2 separate regions of the Homo sapiens genome follow, and region 1 is linked to region 2. The links are contacts of gene promoters, found by promoter capture Hi-C in human tissues and cell types (Jung and others, 2019). All regions are on one chromosome and are shown on one strand. The core of a region is centred on a gene start or on the middle of the fragment in contact, and the rest is flanking DNA. Distances in the headings are between cores, read along the strand shown. Region 1 overlaps PITPNM2 (phosphatidylinositol transfer protein membrane associated 2). Region 2 holds the start of TCTN2 (tectonic family member 2).

Region 1 (3,506 bases), core at 927-3,426, 680 kb before region 2:
CCCGGCCTTTATTGCAGGAGGGCCCGAGACTCTTCCAGGTGCTTCTCTGGATGGCTGGTCTCCCAGGCAGCAGGCAAGACAGGATAAGGTGGGGCCAAGAGAGGAGGAGGCACTGGCCACAGGGCCCCTGACAGGGGCTGTGATTGTCGGGCCAAGCAACTTCCTGCTGGGAGCAGGGGGGTCAGATATTGCACTTTCACTGCAACAGTTACATGAAAACTTGGTCCATAAAATAATCGTTGCTTTATACATAATGCCTGAAACAACAAAAAGCTACATCTTAAATATGAATAAACCCTGAAGGTTCCATCCCTCCAGACTTTTTTCTCTGCACAAAATAAATAGCTTTCACTCTGTATAGACCCACTTTTGCAGAACATTTACACGACCCTTTGGCTGTACATATCTACACACGGGAAAAAGTTAACATCACTCTGTGCACCTCCCCAGCCCGGTCCATGCGTCCCAACACCAGACCCAGGTCGGCCGTAGCTTCTCGGGGACAGAGCCTGGTCGCTGGACAAAGGCCGAGGCCAGGCAGGCTCTCCCACTTCCGGGAAAGCCGAGGAGCAGCAGAGGGGCCGCCGGAGCTGGCCGTTGAGCGCCACAGCCAAGGTCACGCTTGGTGCTGGGGAGAGAGGGCAGACGGTCAGACCCAGCGTGCAGGACAGCATGGTCCTTGTTCAGGCGAGAAATGAAGTCATGGCTGCCTGCCCTGAAGCTGACAAAGCAAGTTGTGGCTTCTTAGATTCGGCATGAAAACGGAATTGGCATTAAAAAAACCGAAGTGTGTGCCCCACCCACCCCAGAGTAGAAATTCAGTGGGATTGCCGGGGCCAGGTGAGGCAAGGAGCCCATGCCTCGCTAAGTGGGCAGGAGCAGGGCCCACGGGACCCAGAACCAGGCTGGACTCCGTCACAGTGCTGGGTGTTTTCAGTGTGGAGGGGCTGCTCTCAGTACTGAAAGAGTTAAGAAAAGGAAGCAGCCAAGGATTGCTCGTTTAAAAAAACCTCATAGAAATCAGATTGAGAAGTAGAAAGGCGTAGAAACGTGGGCGGGCGGCCTTGACTGATGGCAGGGAGCGGAAGAGGCGGCCAGGCCCGTCCAGCCCGTGGCCTGAGGCTGGAAACAACACTGGCCTGGGCTCCAGGCGGGGCAGGCAGACAGGTGGGCAGGGTCCGGGGTGCAGAAATTAAGATACAGCCTTTCTCTCCTGCTTGCACGAGGCTCTGCCGCACTGGAGCCTTCAGTGTGGTTGTAGGTCCTGGGTCAGCAGGTACTGAGTTTCATGCATGTCAACGGGGCTGTAGCCATAGGAGGTGGTAATGGGTCTCCGCTCTCAAAAATCAGTGCAAAACCAGTGAGGTTGAACAGTTGAGAAACTCGAGTTAACAAGATGCAGGCTGGACCCCTGTTGGAGCTGCTACCAAATGGGAGGGGACCTGGGAGTGAGGGTGGCCAGTGGATGGGGAGGTGGCAGGCTGCGCCTGGGCCCACACCTGGCACCAGGACACTTGGAGATCCACACAGGGCAAAATGTCTGGGAGAACCTCCCGGGCCAGTCTGAGTGGGAGGTTCTGGTCCCTCTGCCATCCTGGGGCTGGTGGTCCCTGCCAGCTTCCATGACAAGCCGGACCCGTCAGGCCCGAGGACGTGAGGCAGGGCAGGGAGCACTGTGTGGTGCGGCCCGTGTCCTCCACAAGGCCCTGGGACAATCTCCCAGGCCCACGTCAGTGCGTGTGCCCAGGCCAGGCCTCCTGGCGGGGCTGGCCACCCTGGCCTAGCACCATGGAGACCCCGCGCTGCACTCACGGTGCCCTACTTGGGGCCCGCGGCTGCCCCCGGCTCCAGGCGGCCAGTCATGGCGCGGCCCCAGCAGCCGGCCGCCACACTCATGCTGCGCTGGCCCCGCTGCTCGCCATCCGCCTGGCTCTGTGTCCGCTCGTGCCGGTGGCTGGGCCCGCTGGGCTGGGCCGAGATGGTGCGAAGCAGGTGGTTCCGGGAGCGCAGAAAGTCGCCCTGGCCGGGCAGGCCGAAGCTGCCCTTGCGCAGCGCCATGCGGGTGGCCGTGTTGCGAGCGGGCCGCGCCCGGTGGCTGTACTTCAGCTGCGCCAGGTGGGCCGCGTAGCCATCCGTGATGAACTGCGGGGTCAGTGAGGACGGCTGTCACAGGCTGGGGCTCCCCGAGCTGCCCGCCTGCACCCGCCCCCACAATGCGCCCACTCACCTGGCACTGCTGCTGCAGCTTCTTGGTGGGCCGGCCCACGATGTAGATCTGCATGGGGGACAGGCTAATGGCGCTGTACACCGCCACGTCCTTGGTGGAGCCATAGGCCGCGTGCACGCGCAGGTGCAGCTGTGGGGAGACTGGCATGGGCACAGGCACCATGGTCCCTCTGCCCCCACCCCTGCCCTGCCCCATCCTCCCGGGCCCCACCTCGGAGATGAGCAGCTTCAGGAAGTTGGCCTTGTGCCGCAGCGGGTCATGCACCAGGCCGTCACAGAAGGACACCACGCCATGGGGGAAGTTGTGCTGGGCCAGCCACGCCACCACCCGCTGCTTCTGCATGTCGGGCCGGCCCGTCACGTAGATGATGAGGTAGCCCAGGTCCTGCCAGTGCCTGGGGGTGAGGTGTCGTCTCATGGTCACCCCTTCCTCCCTCCTGGGCCTCCCTGTCTCCTGCCCAGCCAGGGCCCACTTGGGCCATTGGAAAGCACATCTCTGATTGAGCTCAGACAGTAACGACGACAATGGTTGACAATGACGTGCTGCAGCAGGCCCTTGGGTGCCCGCACTGGGCGGCAGATGCCCCTGCTGCTGTGTCCCTGGCTTACCAGCCTCACCTTCCAGATGCGGGAATTGAAAGCCGACATTGAGAAGTGACATCGCTTGCCCAAGGTGACACGGCTAATAATTGGGGGTGCTGGGCTCTGAACTGAGGTCCTTAAGGCCCAGTGCCCGAGCCAGGCGTCCCCCACAGAGGCTCCGCTGTCCTCCTCCACCTGGCTGGTGGGAGCCCCTGAGCCCACCCACCTTGCTACAGCCCCTTTGTGCCCCTCTGGGCCACTCACCGCACCACGTCCACGGCCCCGGCCCGCACCTTGGGGTCGCTGCCCATGATGGACACGCTAGCGGCAAAGGAACCGTCGATGCTGAAGACCACGAACTCTGTGCCCTTGGGCAGCACGGTGATGTAGCTGTCGGCAAACGTGTGGTCTCCCCTGGCAGGTGGTGGGGGTGCTCATCAGAACCACCCAGAGCCTCGCCCTGCCTATCCCGCCCTCCCAGTGCAGGCATATACCTGACCACCATCTTGATAGGGTAGACACCCACGCCCAGGCGGTGCGACTCAGGGATGGTGTAGGAGACACGCCCACTGTTGTTGGTCACCAGCGTATCCAGGTAGAGCCACTCGCCTGAGGGCGGCTGGGTCATGATGTGCACATCCACCTGGGCCCAGCAGGCTGGTCACGGGCTGGCTGTGTCTGGCCTCTCCACCCCCTGC
Region 2 (3,866 bases), core at 194-2,693:
AGGAAGGATTATTATCATCCCTTTTTTATAGATGAGGAAGCTGAAACTTAGAGAGGTTGACTTGCCCAAAGTCACTTAACAGCTGAGAATATCTGTGGAGGGAAGGCGAAATCCCATGCCAGGCAGCCTGACCTCAGACCCTGCACTCTCAGTCCCCAAGCCGTGACAATATTTGAAATGTTCTGAGGCTACTGATATAAGAAAAAACAATTTTTTTCCAGACAGAATTTTGATTCTTTCACATCTGTCCTATTGCTGGGCAAAACCTCTTGTGTGTTCTGTGATTGGATCTGCTTTCAGAGTGCTGAGAGCTCTGTGCAGGGGAGAAAATCCTTCAAAAACCTAGGAGAATGATAATAAAAGCAATAGTGATAATAAATGATAATGATAAGAATTATAAAAATATAAATTTTATAAAATTATAACATATAAGTATAAAATTTACAAAATATATACTTATATAAAAGATAAATATATATAAGATAAAATATAAATACATATATATTTTATAAGATAAATAAATAAATAAATATATTTTTGAGACGGAGTCTGGCTCTGTCGCCCAGGTTTGAGTGCAGTGGTGCAATCGCGGCTCACTGCAACCTCCGCCTCCCAGATTCATACAATTCTCCTGCCTCAGCCTCCTGAGTAGCTGGGATAATAGGCGCCTGCCACCACGCCTGGCTAATTTTTTGTATTTTTAGTAGAGACGGGGTTTCACCATGTTGATCAGGCTGGTCTCAGACTCCTGACATTGTGATCCGCCCGCCTCGGCCTCCCAAATTGCTGGGATTACAGGCATGAGCCGCCAGACCCGGCCTATATGTATTTTATATATATCAAGTATGTATATCTGATATATATATATAAAACAAAGTATATCTATTTTGTAAATATATATTTATTTTATAAAAATATAAAATATAAATAATACATCATAAACGATAGTAAAGATAATAAACACAGCGCGGCAGCCCCATCCCCTTTTTCTACTCACCCCTAAAACAAATCCGTATAAAAATCAAGTTTATTAAGGAGCAAGTCCCACCCTTTTTATTTAGAAGCCAGTGTCTATAGGATCGCTCTTGGCTATTGTTGGATTAATTCCAGGGTAGGGGAAAACTCCAGTTTTTGAGCCGGACACGCACTCCTGCTTTTCAGGACCTTTTTAATTTTGATGTTTTCAACTTTTAGGCCCAGGGGTCCATGTACAGGTTGCTATATAGGTAAATTGCGTGTCACGGGGGTTGGGTGCACAGATTGTTTCGTCACCCAGGTACTAAGTGGAGCACCGGATAGGTAGTTTTTCAGCCCTCACTCTCCCCACCAGAGTCAAGCAGCAAAAATGCTAGGCCTTGTGGGCGGGGCCGGGGTGCCCGCTCTTGCCACTGGTCCAATCACAGCGCGGCGTTCCTCCTGGCCGGCCGCCGATTGGTGGTTGCCATAGCTCCGGGCGTTCGCTTGCAAGATGGCGGCGGCGGGGCAGTGGCTGCTGCGTTTTCGTGTCTGAGTCCTTCCTGGGTTCTAATGAGGGCGCGGTTCTGCTGTGCCCGGCCCGCGAGGTCTAAGGCATGGGCTTCCAGCCTCCGGCCGCTCTTCTTTTGAGGCTTTTCCTTCTGCAGGGCATCCTGAGGCTTCTGTGGGGGGACCTGGGTGTGTACGGCGCGGCAGTGACCTCGGTGGGCCGGGGCTGAGGGGACTGGGCGTTAAAAGGGCCAGACTTGGACTCCCCCGGGAGCTTCGGGAGTCGACAACGCCAAAGCAAGCCGCCACACACACCTTAGGCGGTGATTCTTCCACTGCTAACCCCTCCTTGTCCCCTTTCCTTCCCGCCTAGCTTTCATCCCTCCTTTTATCCGAATGTCCGGCCCTGCGGTCAGCGCGTCCCTGGTCGGAGACACCGAGGGTGTGACCGTGTCCCTGGCAGTGCTGCAGGACGAGGCGGGTAAAGTCCGGCCCTCTTTTGGGGAGGGTGGGGGTTGGACTGGATCCAGACCTCCCAAGGAGCCTGGAGAGGTGGCATCCTTGGGGCCCCCTGCCTCTGTTCTCTGCAAAGTCGCATGGGGAGAAAAGGATCGGGCGGCTGCTGTAGGCCAAAGAGGACAGACGGACAGGTTCGAAGAAAGCCTGAAATAATAATGGTTAGCATTCATTGAGCTAACATCGTGCATCATCCCATTTTCCTAGTAAGAACAGTAATATCTTTTCATCCCCTTTGACCAAGGAAGAAACAAGTTCAGAGAGGTTGTCACTGTCCCAGTGTCAAGCAGCTTGTAAAGGGCCCAATCTTAGGCTGTAATGTGAGTCCATCCTAGGCAGTCTGACTCAATGCACCCCCTGAGCTGCTGGACCTTGCTGCCTTTGCATGCTGGTCTTCTTTCTTTAGGAATATTGCCAATTCCGACGTGTGGAGTGCTGAACAATGAGACGGAAGACTGGAGCGTGACTGTGATCCCCGGTGCGGTAAGGCCAGAAGTAAACCTTCTCTGTAGCCTGTGAAGAGGCCCCCAGCTAGGGTTTCTGCAGTGCTCTCTTTATTTAACAAGGCATGGCTTTCTCCATGCTCTCAACAATCATGAAATTGTGGGCTGTTGGATCTGGTAGACACTTATCCAGCCCACGGGTTCCTTACCCTGGGGTTAGGAGTCCTTGGATGTATTTCAGTGGGTCTGTGAACTCTATGAAATTGTATGTAAAGTTCTGTGTGTATGTGCATTTTTCTGATGAGAGGGTCACCAGTTTCCTTTAGATCATCAAATGGGTCAGTGATTCAAAAAAGCTTTATGCCAGGCATCGTGGCTCACGCCTGTACTCATAGCGCTTTGGGAGATTGAGGCGGGAGGATTGCTTGAGCCCAGGAGTTCCAGACCAGCCTGTAACATAGCGAGACCTCGTCTCTACAAAACAATTAAAAAAAAAATTAGGTGGGTGGCGTACACCTACAGTCCCAGATACTTGGAGGGGGGTGGGGTAGCTGAGGCAAGAGGATTATTTGAGCCCAGGAGTTCAGGGCTGCAGAGAGCTATGATCGCACCACTGCACTTCATCCAGCCTGGGCAACAGAGCAAGACCCTGTCTCTTAAAAAAAAAGAAAAAGCTGGTCAGGCGCGGTGGCTCACGCCTGTAATCCTAGCACTTTGGGAGGCCGAGGAGGGCGGATCATCTGAGGTCAGGAGTTCAAGACCAGTCTGGCCAACATGGTGAAACCCATCTCTACTAAAAATACAAAAATTAGCTGGGCGTGATGGCGGGTGCCTGTAATCTCAGCTACTTTGGAGGCTGAGGCAGGAGAATCACTTGAACCCGGGAGGCAGAGATTGCAGTGAGCCGAGATCACGCCACTGCACTCCAGCTTGGGTGATGAGCGAGACTCCGTCTCAAAAAAAAAAGCTTCATAACCACTGATCTTGCCCAACTCTGAGCTTATGTGTAAGGATACTCAAACCTGGAGAGATTAAGCATCTTCTATTTAATAAGTGTTTATTGGATACCTAGTATATGCAACATCAATTCTGGAGAGAAAAGGACAGGAAAGACAAGCTCTGCTTGTACCCCAGGAGTGAACATGTACATGTCTAAAGTCATTCTGGGATAAACTGAGGATTGTTTTCATTGACTTTTTTTGTGTATTTACTCTTCCACTGATAGGATGATAAAGAAACTAAAAAGGTGTACAATAAACTGAGTTTATTTATCAGATCTGTGTTTAGCTTTCTCTAAGTATCCCGAAGTTGTTTGCTTTTATGTTAAGGAAGAAGAATCAGGGCTTGCATGTTACCATAGGTTTATGGGGGGGAACTGAAGATAACTGTGTCATCTCTGTATACATTTCCCTTTTATAAAATGAACGGAGGCTGATGTGTACT

The links. Contacts are between HindIII fragments. The study calls those that stand out against the background at their distance.
Region 1: a contact is called between a fragment that was not itself captured here and the fragment with the promoter of TCTN2 in region 2, in 1 of the 25 tissues and cell types used here (dorsolateral prefrontal cortex).

The regions. Positions count from the first base shown.
Region 1 is chr12:122,984,209-122,987,714 of GRCh38, forward strand. It overlaps PITPNM2 (phosphatidylinositol transfer protein membrane associated 2), which reads right to left. Exons shown (of 26, transcript NM_020845.3): 22 at 3,303-3,451; 23 at 3,073-3,222; 24 at 2,438-2,621; 25 at 2,228-2,356; 26 at 1-2,142. The coding sequence ends at 1,819. Among named protein-coding and RNA genes, the nearest start is that of ARL6IP4, 5.3 kb to the left of the region's middle. The HindIII fragment of the contact is 7,000 bases long and covers 1-3,506 here.
Region 2 is chr12:123,669,670-123,673,535 of GRCh38, forward strand. TCTN2 (tectonic family member 2) reads left to right here and starts at 1,444. Exons shown (of 18, transcript NM_024809.5): 1 at 1,444-1,653; 2 at 1,838-1,945; 3 at 2,387-2,463. The coding sequence starts at 1,572. The HindIII fragment of the contact is 13,736 bases long and covers 1-3,084 here.